Linked DNA regions of Homo sapiens: region 2 is linked to region 1. The links are contacts of gene promoters, found by promoter capture Hi-C in blood cells and fetal thymus (Javierre and others, 2016). All regions are on one chromosome and are shown on one strand. The core of a region is centred on a gene start or on the middle of the fragment in contact, and the rest is flanking DNA. Distances in the headings are between cores, read along the strand shown. Region 1 holds the start of FBXO43 (F-box protein 43). Region 2 overlaps POP1 (POP1 ribonuclease P/MRP subunit).

Region 1 (5,209 bases), core at 748-3,247:
CACACTAAATGCATCTTATTTTCTCCCAAGCCTATACTCTTCATTCCCTCACTCCTTGCCCCATGCAGTTGATTCTGCCAACTGAACATGTCACATCTTGGTTCTGCTCCACCCCCCACTGCCTTCTGGAGAAATGCAGTAGCTTCCTACTGGTCTCCTAGCAGCCACCCTTGCCTCTCTTCATTCTGTCCTCCATTCTGCCACCAGAGTGGACTTTCTAAAATGCTCTTCAAACTCTGAAGGTGCAACCAGAACTTCCCAAGACTTAGCTTCTTCACTTCTCAGGAATTTTCTCTAATCCTTTCCTCTAACAACTCTTAGTTTCTGCCTATAACAAATTATTTGCAGCTTCTCCATGTGCCCAACTGCTCTTGCACATTTTGTTTTGAGTTTGAAATTTTCCTGCCCTTATACATTTTAAGTTTGGAATTTCCTGCTGTCTGCCTTTTAAATTGCCACTTGTACATCAAAATCTATCTCATGCACTCTGTTCTCCAGTAGAGTTAGCTGGTTCTTCTTTCCTTTGTGCTGCTACTGTTCCTCTGTTACAGCACTTGCTCTATACCAATGAGCTCCTTAACAGCAGTAACTGTGGCTGTGTCAGCTCTGTATTCCCAGTACCTAGCACAGTAATTGGCACATAGTTGGAATTTAATAACTGTTAGTGGACGGGCACAGTGGCTCATGCCTGTAATCTCAGCACTTTGGGAGGCTGAGGCAGGTGGATCACCTGAGGTCAGGAGTTCGAGACCAGCCTGGCCAACCTGGCAAAACTCCGTCTCTACTGAAAATACAAAAATTAGCTAGGCGTGGTGGCGGGTGCCTGTCATCCCAGCTACTCGGGAGGCTGAGGCAGGAGAATCGTTTGAACCTGGGAGGTGGAGGTTGCAGTGAGCCAAGATTGCACCACGGCACTCCAGCGTGCGTGACAGAGCGAGACCCTGTCTCATAATAATTTTAGTGAGTTTGGTTTTGGATGACTGAGGGACATCCAGTTGGAGAAATGTCCAGTCAGAGAAGAGTGGTGGTAGTGCCTGTTATTGGCTTAAAAGTGATGGTTGAAGTTCTGAATAAGAATTACATAAGCATGGGATGATAAACTAATAAAAATGCTGAGGTAGGACCTCTCATTTAGGGAGTAGGCCAAGGAAAAGAAGCCAGAAAAAGGAGACTAGGAAGAAGCTGCCAAGAGCAGCAGGAGTGTCCCTGGCATATAATAGACGCCCAGTAAATATTTATTGAATGAAAAAATTAGGGTTTAAAAAATTTATTTGGCTTTGAGGGTACTTGGGAGTTCATGATGCCCAAAAATGGATGTTTGTAAACAATGAACACATTTCACTCTGGTTTTTATGAATAGATTTTTTAAAAATCTTTTTTTTGAGATGGGGGTCTCACTATGTTGCCCAGGCTGGTCTCAAATTCCTTGGCTCAAGTGATCCTCCCACCTCTGTGCTGGGATTACAGATGTGAGCCACCAGGCCCGGCTCAGCTTTTTTATCACAAAATCTGTATATATTCATTGTTGAAACATGAGAAGAAAACACAGATAAAAAGAACTAAAAAGCAAACATAATCCTGTACAAATTTACCGTATCCAAGTTATTCATACCTTTCAGACCTCATCCTGTGTATATCCATATTTTTAACCTAAAAGGGGTCAGTTTGTAACTTGCTTTTTGCACTTGACAGTTTGGAGAATCATTTCCAAGGGAACATTCTCATACATGATTTCTAATGGCATCCCACTGTAGGCCACGTTAGCATTCCTAAATACGGTAATGCTTCCCAAAGTGGGAATGGGGAGAAGCAGAGCCTTTCTGACCCGCCTCGGGACGGGTGCAGGGGTGAGCGAGAGAGGGGGCGCTCCTCCCGCTCAAGCGAGGACCCAGGCCTGCGGGCGGCCGGGCGGGAGCGCTGCAGAGCCGGAGGAAGGGGCGGGACAGCGCGGCGCGGGGCGGGGCTGCGCTTAGCGGTTACCCCGGGCGGGCCGTTCAAACCTAAGGAGGTAAAGGCAGCGGCCCCACGCGAAGCTGGCGTGGGGGTTGCCATAGCCCGCATCCCAGGGGGCGAGGCCGAGGCTTCTCCCCGGCCCATCCAGCGGCTGCTGCCCGGCTCCTCTCCCACCTGTCCGCTTCGGCGCCTCGCCCGGCCCCGCGGCCTCCAGGCAGGCGGCGGGACCCCAGGCGAGTGCCCGTTAGCGGGTCTCCCGGCGGCCCGGCCCCGCGTCGCCCTGTGTCTTCCAGGTGCTGGGCCTAGGGAGGCGCGCGGCAGCCCTCACTCCTCCGCTCCTGGTGACGCCAGCCCATCCCCTGCTGCCCTTGGCTTTCTGGGCCTAGCGGATCTTTGACGCCCTGGTGAGACCGTTACCCACCCGCCCGCCATAGCTCCTCGGGGGAGTCAGTGCCAGGCTGCAGCACACGCTGCCTTTTCAGGAACCCGAATTTGGGAAGTTTACTCATGTCTAAGTCCAGCTGGAGAAAACAAGGATATTAAGATAACTATTTTCTGGAGGGCTGAAGGAAATTCAAAATGATTTAGACCTTCTCAAGTGTTAGGAATAATCCCTGCGGCATGCACCCTGTGTACCCTTCGACTTTGAGCAATCATGATGCTGCTGCACCTTTCAATTAATTGTGCAAACTAAAGTTTTCCTCTTTAAGTGGCATTATTTTGGCATGAGTTTTAAAGACAAAGATGAGAGAATTTCTTGTTTGGAAGCCTACGTAACTTTGACATCTAAGAGCTCAAGATTTACTGATGGTAAGAGTTTCCACTTTAACAAATGAAGAACATTTGGGTTTAATGTAAGTACTTCATTCTCTGATGTGGTAGGTGCTTTTTCTTTTTTTTCTTTTTCTTTTTTCTTTCTTTTTTTTTTTTTGAGACGGAGTCGCTCTGTCGCCCAGGCTGGAGTGCAGTGGCGCGATCTCGGCTCACTGCAAGCTCCACCTCCCGGGTTCACGCCATTCTCCTGCCTCAGCCTCCCGAGTAGCTGGGACTACAGGCGCCCGCCACCACGCCCGGATAATTTTTTTGTATTTTTAGTGGAGACGGGGTTTCACCGTGTTAGCCAGGTTGGTCTCGCTCTCCTGACCTCGTGATCCGCCCGCCCCGGCCTCCCAAAGTGCTGGGATTACGGGCGTGAGCCACCGCGCCCGGCCGCTGCTTTTTTTTTTTTTTTTCTTAAAGAACACTTTAGGAATAAGTTTTCTCAGCCTTTTATCAGAAGCCTAGTTTTTAAAAATGAATATCGAAGAGGCTTGATTGATTTATCCGTGAACTGTTGAGTCCATAAAATACAACAGACAGTCCATGATTTTACATGAATAATTTTAAAATTCAGTTGCGAAGAACCACGTTTGAGACCAACGTCTTGGGGTAGTAGAAAGATGAAAATGCTAGCAGAGAAAGGACGTTGGAGGCAACTTCAAGTGTGTAGATGAACAGAAACAATTTTTTTTTTAAGAGATGGGGTCTCACTATGTTACCCAGGCTGGTCTTAAACTCCTGGACTCAAGCATTTCTCCCGCCGCGGCCTCCTAAAGTGCTGGGATTACAGGCGTGAGCCACCGGCCAGAATAGATTTTTGGATAACATTTTAGAGGAAAGAGATAATATCTGCATTCCCCACTTTGTTTTTAACAATTTGCCTCTGAGTTTCCCAAATTCTAGCATTGTGAGACACCTAGTGGTGAAGTAGCAGTACAATTGCCATAACCTTTTAAAAGGACCGTGACCTGCCGGGCGCGTTGGCTATTGCCTGTAATCCCAGCACTTTGGGAGGCCAAGGTTGGGTGGATCACCTGAGGTCAGGAGTTCGAGACCAGCCTGGCCAACATGGCGAAAGCCCGTCTCTACTAAAAATACACAAATTAGCCGGGCGTGGTCGTGGGCGCCTGTAATCCCAGTCAGTGGGGAAGCTGATACAGGAAAATTGGTTGAACCCGGGAGGCAGAGGCTGCAGTGAGCAGAAATCACGCCACTGCACTCCAGCCTGGGCGAAAAAGCGAGACTCCGTCTCATAAAAAATAAAAAAATTAAAAATTAAAAATAAAAGGGCTGTGACGCAAATTGAGTGAAAAGTGTTATTTAACAGAATTACCTTCAGAGAGGGAGAAAACAGTTCATGGGTGGAGATGTAATTTTAATATGCATTCTACTTATTTAATATTTGTAAAACAAAATTGTTTAAAAATATAACAAAATTATAAAAAGCAATTTGATAAATCTATTTGGTTTGTGACCATGTGCAGAAGTTAGCAGTGATCTGAGAGGATGTAGATCAGAAGGGGACATGTATGACATTTATCAAAAACGAGTATAGATTTAAAAGGTTAAAAAATACTTAGACTTTGTTTAGTAAAAATAATCTTTTAATGATCATCAAACCATAAAGAAATATTTTGTGTTTAGAGTAGCAATTTGCTTTTGTAACAAAGATCATTCACTCATATATCTGATTAAGTTTAAGCATAAATAAATTACTGTCGCATTACAGCCAATAAATAGATCTTCCCAGGATCTTTTAATGGAGAAAAATTGTGCATTTGTCCTGGAGAAAACTTTGAAGGAATGACAGTCTTCTTCATGTCCTTTGAATCATCTGGAAAAATATCAAAAACTATAATAAATTTTTTTCTTAACACTATTTTTGTCAAAACAAATTTGTTAGCTTTGAGTTAAGATTTATTTCAAGTTTCTAAAAAGAAGGAATGTGATGACACTGTTGAAAAGTTTAAGGAGTAAAATATTTCTTAGTGTCATTCCTTGCTCATGTAACTACTGAGTAACTGTTCTTTAAGTAATTGAGTTGCATTCTTTATTTGCAACTTCAAGAATATTTTAAATGGTGGTTTTCCCATAAATAGTTGCCTATTAACTGTGAATTCAAGGCTGAAACTGGACCTTGCATCACAAAATATTTAGAAAGTGAGATATGAATAAGTACAACATGCCAAGTTTGAAATGGCCCTATCTGTGGTGCAGTGGTTCATTATGGTTAGCTCAAGAAGAATGTGTTAGTAGTTCATTGATGAGCCAGTCTTTGCAAAGTCTTAAGTCTGGGAATTCACATCTCGTGAATGGTTATGGGGACTAGGTTTCTACAACAGGTCTATGTTACATGTTTGAACATTACTTGAGTTGTTCAGCCTGATTGCAGGTAGATCTAGAGGCAGCACTCATTATTTGACACATTCCCAAGGTG
Region 2 (4,801 bases), core at 283-2,782, 2.0 Mb after region 1:
CCCAACCCAAGATTGATTTCTGGGCTGCAGCTTGGGCTATTGGGTGATTCTAAAATGCAGCCAAAGGCCAGGCACAATGGCTCACACTTGAAACTCAGCACTTTGGGAGGCCGAGGTGGACAGATCACTTGAGGTCAGGAGTTCGAGACCGGCCTGACCAACGTAGTGAAACCCCGTCTCTACTAAAAAATACAAAAGTTAGCCGGGTATGGTGGCGTGTACCTGTAATCCCAGCTACTCGGGAGGCTGAGGCAGAAGAATCGCATGAACCCGGGAGGCAGAGGTTGCAGTGAGCCAAGATCGTGACACTGCACTCCAGACTGGGCAGACAGAGTAAGACTGTAGGAGAGAAGAGGAGAGAAGAAGAGAGGAGGGGAGAGGAGGGGAGAGGAGGGGAGAGGAGGGGAGAGGAGGGGAGAGGAGGGGAGAGGAGGGGAAAGGAGGGGAGAGGAGGGGAGGGGAGGGGAGGAGAGGGGAAGGGGAGGAAAGGAAAGGAGAGGGGAAGGGGAGGGGAAGGGAAGGGTGCCAAGACTGGAAGCTGCTGTTGCCAAAGAAAAGGCAGTGCCTGTATTCCTCTGTGTCCTCAGGAGGCCTATAATAACCAGAACCGCTGTGAAACTGGGGTTGATGCTTGAGTGGCCCACAGTTGCTACAGGCTATGTATTCTCTGCTAAACAGCTCAATCCTGGACCTATCTCTGTGCTCCCCAGGCCTCAGATCGGCTGGCTACGAGTAGGCCAGTTAAGACTATGAGGGAGTCCATATAGCTTGTCAACCGCCCCCCTCACCTCCCACTGGTTGGGAAGAAAGAACTCACGCAAGGCATGTGGCCGCCAAGACGGCAATGCTACACTTAGTACATGATGGGTGGTTACATACTAACTTCCCATTTAAAAAAAAAAAAAAAAAAAAGGAGTATTATCCTTAAAGCTCTTGCCAGTCAAGCACCAACAAAAAAACTGGTAACATGCACTCTGCTGCACTTGCATGGTATAGCTCTTTATATAAGCAACGGCTTATGTTATTAAAAGAAAACTACCCACATACATCTTAACGTCTAGGATACATAACAGAAGGTAACTAGTTATATTGCATGGTGAAAATCCAGGTGATTTAAATTTTGTTATTGTTGCTCATCTTCATTTTCTAATTGTTTTATGATGAATATGGATGACTGATATGAACAATATTACTAGAGCATAAACACCAAAAGGAATCCATTGTTTCTTACAGAACTCAAGTGCATAGCTGGTCTGTAAGTGTTCAGCTCACAACTCTGCCTTTTCTTTTCTTTTTTTTTTTTTGGAATGGAGTTTTGCTCTTGTTACCCAGGCTGGAGTGCAATGGTGCGATCTCGGCTCATTGCAACCTCCGCCTCCCGGGTTCAAGCAATTCTCCTGCCTCAGCCTCTCAAGCAGCTGGGATGGCAGGCATGCGCCACCATGCCTGGCTAATTTTGTATTTTTGGTAGAGACAGGGTTTCACCATGTTGGTCAGGATGCTTCAAGAACCCTAAAAGCATTGCTCCCTCAACAAGAGGACAAGGGCCACATTGCACTTATTTGGTAGCTATGTAGCTCTAGTACAGCATGGCAGGCACTTGGAAGGATCAAGATCAACACGCTAATCAATTCAACTGCCAGAAAGTAAGCCATTCCCCTATCAGTCTTTTTCATAAGGAACATGGATTCTTTACTGCCTCTGCAGAGTCTGTTAGTTTTTCAACGTATCTTCTGTGAAACTAGTGTTCTCTGGACAATAGGTATGCAAAAACCAAAAAAGGTACGTGTGTGGGAGTCTGAAAGACAGATTTCTTTCCTAAAGAGCTTTGCAGAGCTTTGACTCTGCAAGTATTCATTGTGAATCATAATAGGAGGATACCATATATAGCTTTTCCCATATTTATTTAGCCATAAAATACTTTTCTCCAGGAACAGCTGCAGGGACTAGTACTCCCAGGAATACATTTTGGGAAATGCTAATCTATCTTTCTGGTGCGCAGCTCTTTGACCTACCACCCACCAGGCAGAGTGGCTGCAAACGTGCCCTGTCCCCTATAATGAGGGCGGGGCAGCAGGCCCTAGGCAGGGCTGTACAGAATGAGGTTAGGTGACCACGCAGCACACTCAGACTTCTGTCATCGAGTGAGCTCAGCCACAAATGAGGTGACTGAGAGCCCAGAAAACAAATAAGGAATGGTCCAATAAATATAAATATTCACAACTGAACATCAGGTGACATTTTCATTTATTCTGTTTACAGATGCCACTTAGTTACACTGTTTTTTTTTTTTCAGTCTCATCTGGGTTGGATCCAAAGACATTCAGAGGCATGGTAAGAGGCAAAGCATCAGACATCTCATTGGTGGCAGGTACTTCCTGACTACTGTACCACCTGCTGTATCCTTCCCCACCTCATCACCCCCAAAGCCATTTAGTGCCAAATGCTACAGTAAAAACCCAATGCATTTACATAAAATAATGCCTAACTGCATATTTACATTTTTTAGAAAAAAAATCCCATTAAGCTCTTCTAGAAAGTTATGGCAGGAAAGGTAAGGACCAAGGCTATGAGCAAGCCATATGTGGAAACTTAAAGTAGATGAGCACTGAGTTTCTCCATAGTTGGAAAAAAGCCACACTGAGCCCACTCTTCCTGTGAGGCAAGATGAGACCTTCCTTTTATACCCTGTTGAGAATCTCAGGTGGACAACGTGACTGCATGAGTGTTGAAAGGCAGCTTGCCGGCTTAGTTATCACCTTGCAGAGGTAGCTATGCACTACACAGCCACACTGCCCAAAGCGCGCTACTAAGAACACTGGTCCTACAAAGGGCTCCTTGTAAGAGAACTTTAGGAATCACAAGTATTTAGAAAATACTATACACTATCATTTCCTTCCTAGAGATCCGCAATGCACATTATCACATGGAAGTTTCCAGAAGTTCTTTCATAAAGAAATGCTTAACTTTATTTAACCTAGAGTTTCCATATCAACCTGACCTTGGAATCTCTTACTTTTTTAGGTGACACATATCATAGAACATATTCTGAGAAATGCTCCTCTATGGCTTTGAGAAAATCTTTGCAGAAACAAAATAATAATAATTTTTTACTTAAAAAAATTAAGTAACTAGTAGGATCAAGTGTTGGTCAACAACAAAGAGATCAAAGAGTCAGGAAGTCCACGTCATAGACCCCCACTTTCTAATTCCAGCCTAGCACTGACGCCATAAACTGTGCCTGCCTGAAAACAGGCAGAAATCAGTTGTCCATGATTTCTCTCTTTAAGGCTTGAGTTGTTCGGCATGGAAATCACAGTACAGAATTGAATGAGGTCCATCAGGAGCCCATATTTCATGTACAGAGGCCAAGCGTCTTCTCTTGTCTTCTGCTATAACAGTGAAATCATTAAACATCTATTGTTGCTTATCACATGACTATGAGGTTTTTCAAATAGACCTGACAAGCCCTTTGTTTCTAACAAAAAAAGGGGATGATAACTCGTAGAGCTTCTCATTATTTTCAGCCACAACTACACAGACCAAGAGATCATAATACAAAGCTTTTGGCCAAATAATTTAAAAGTATTACAGCAAGGACAGGGAAAGATGAAAATCAATGACATTACTGGAATGATGTAAACATTTCATCATCTGCATAATACATAATTTTTTATTCTTGTTTCCAGGGAGTTTCACATGATATTTTAAAGCAGAAGCAGATTCTCCACATGTAGAACTTGGCAGACAATAATAACGTATTATCTATGCCCTGCTGGGATACAAGCACGCATTCACACCTCAATAGCAATCCTCGCAAATCGATACTGCAGAGAGGCGGGAGGCCTCAGTAGCACTAAGCCCCTCTGCGCTGCAGGCTGGCTGGACAGCATATCCAGCAAGCCTGTCAAGCTAACAAACCCCAGGGCTTCTCCACAGCCAACAGCCATGGAAAAATCTCCCTGAGTCACAAAGCCTAGGAGAGTTCTGGAGCAGTGCAACGTCACACGCGGCAGAGGGCCTGACCACAGCCCTAGAGTCAGAGCTTCCTGCCCAGCCACGGGCTCTTCCCCCGCCGGGCCATCAGAAGAGGCACGTCCTGGCTTCTGCCTCTTCTCCCTTTTCTTCTTCTCTTTCTGTTTCAGGATCTTGCTCCTGAATGGGTCACTGTGTTTGGATTCCTGGGGCCCACAGTAATGCCAGTCCTCATGGAGCTGGAGGAAGTCCTCCTTGGCTGGGACACAGATCATGGTGTGAGGCTCGGGGCTGCCCTTGCTGAGCAGGGACAGGCTGACCCAAACCAGGGCCCTGGGGAAGTGGCCCAAGATGGACAGGCAAGCCTCTCTGGTCAATCCTTGCTGGCCTCTGCCGGGAGCTCGCCGGCCTCCCCGACTATCCTCAGAACTGGGCCCACACCAGGCTGACAGTTGCTTCAGTAATTTTCTACTCCTACATGAAGTTGGAGACATACGTTTGAGGATATTTTGTTCCAGAAAAAAATATGCAATCAGAAGATTAGACACTGCTAGAATTAATTTGATTCTTTTATACTATATAAGAATCAAAACTACAATTTTTTAAAAATTAGAAATACACTGTAGTACATTTTAGTACTTATATTTTTCTTTTTATGTGTTTGCCATTCTGAAACTCAGGGACTAAAGATTTAAGAAGTTGAAGGCAGGGAAAACAAGACAGTGAGATAGAATCTAGGATTGTAATCACAGTGAGGGTGAAAATAAAGAGCCACTAAGATTTCAATGAGTAAAGGAACTGTAAGGGACTGTTACATGTAAAGTAA

Evidence for each region. Contacts are between HindIII fragments. The CHiCAGO score rates a contact against its expected background, and 5 or more counts as called.
Region 2: a fragment that was not itself captured here is called in contact with the fragment with the promoter of FBXO43 in region 1 in 6 of 17 cell types (monocytes, M2 macrophages, non-activated CD4 T cells and 3 more); the score reaches 7.8 in monocytes.

Annotation. Positions count from the first base shown.
Region 1 is chr8:100,142,605-100,147,813 of GRCh38, reverse strand. It overlaps FBXO43 (F-box protein 43), which reads left to right and starts at 1,997. Exons shown (of 5, transcript NM_001029860.4): 1 at 1,997-2,763. The coding sequence starts at 2,679. RefSeq lists a silencer at 1,814-2,273 and an enhancer at 3,385-3,534. The HindIII fragment of the contact is 15,929 bases long and covers 1-5,209 here.
Region 2 is chr8:98,157,265-98,162,065 of GRCh38, reverse strand. POP1 (POP1 ribonuclease P/MRP subunit) reads right to left here. Exons shown (of 16, transcript NM_001145860.2): 16 at 2,231-4,449. The coding sequence ends at 3,795. Among named protein-coding and RNA genes, the nearest start is that of NIPAL2-AS1, 17 kb to the left of the region's middle. The HindIII fragment of the contact is 4,067 bases long and covers 1-3,565 here.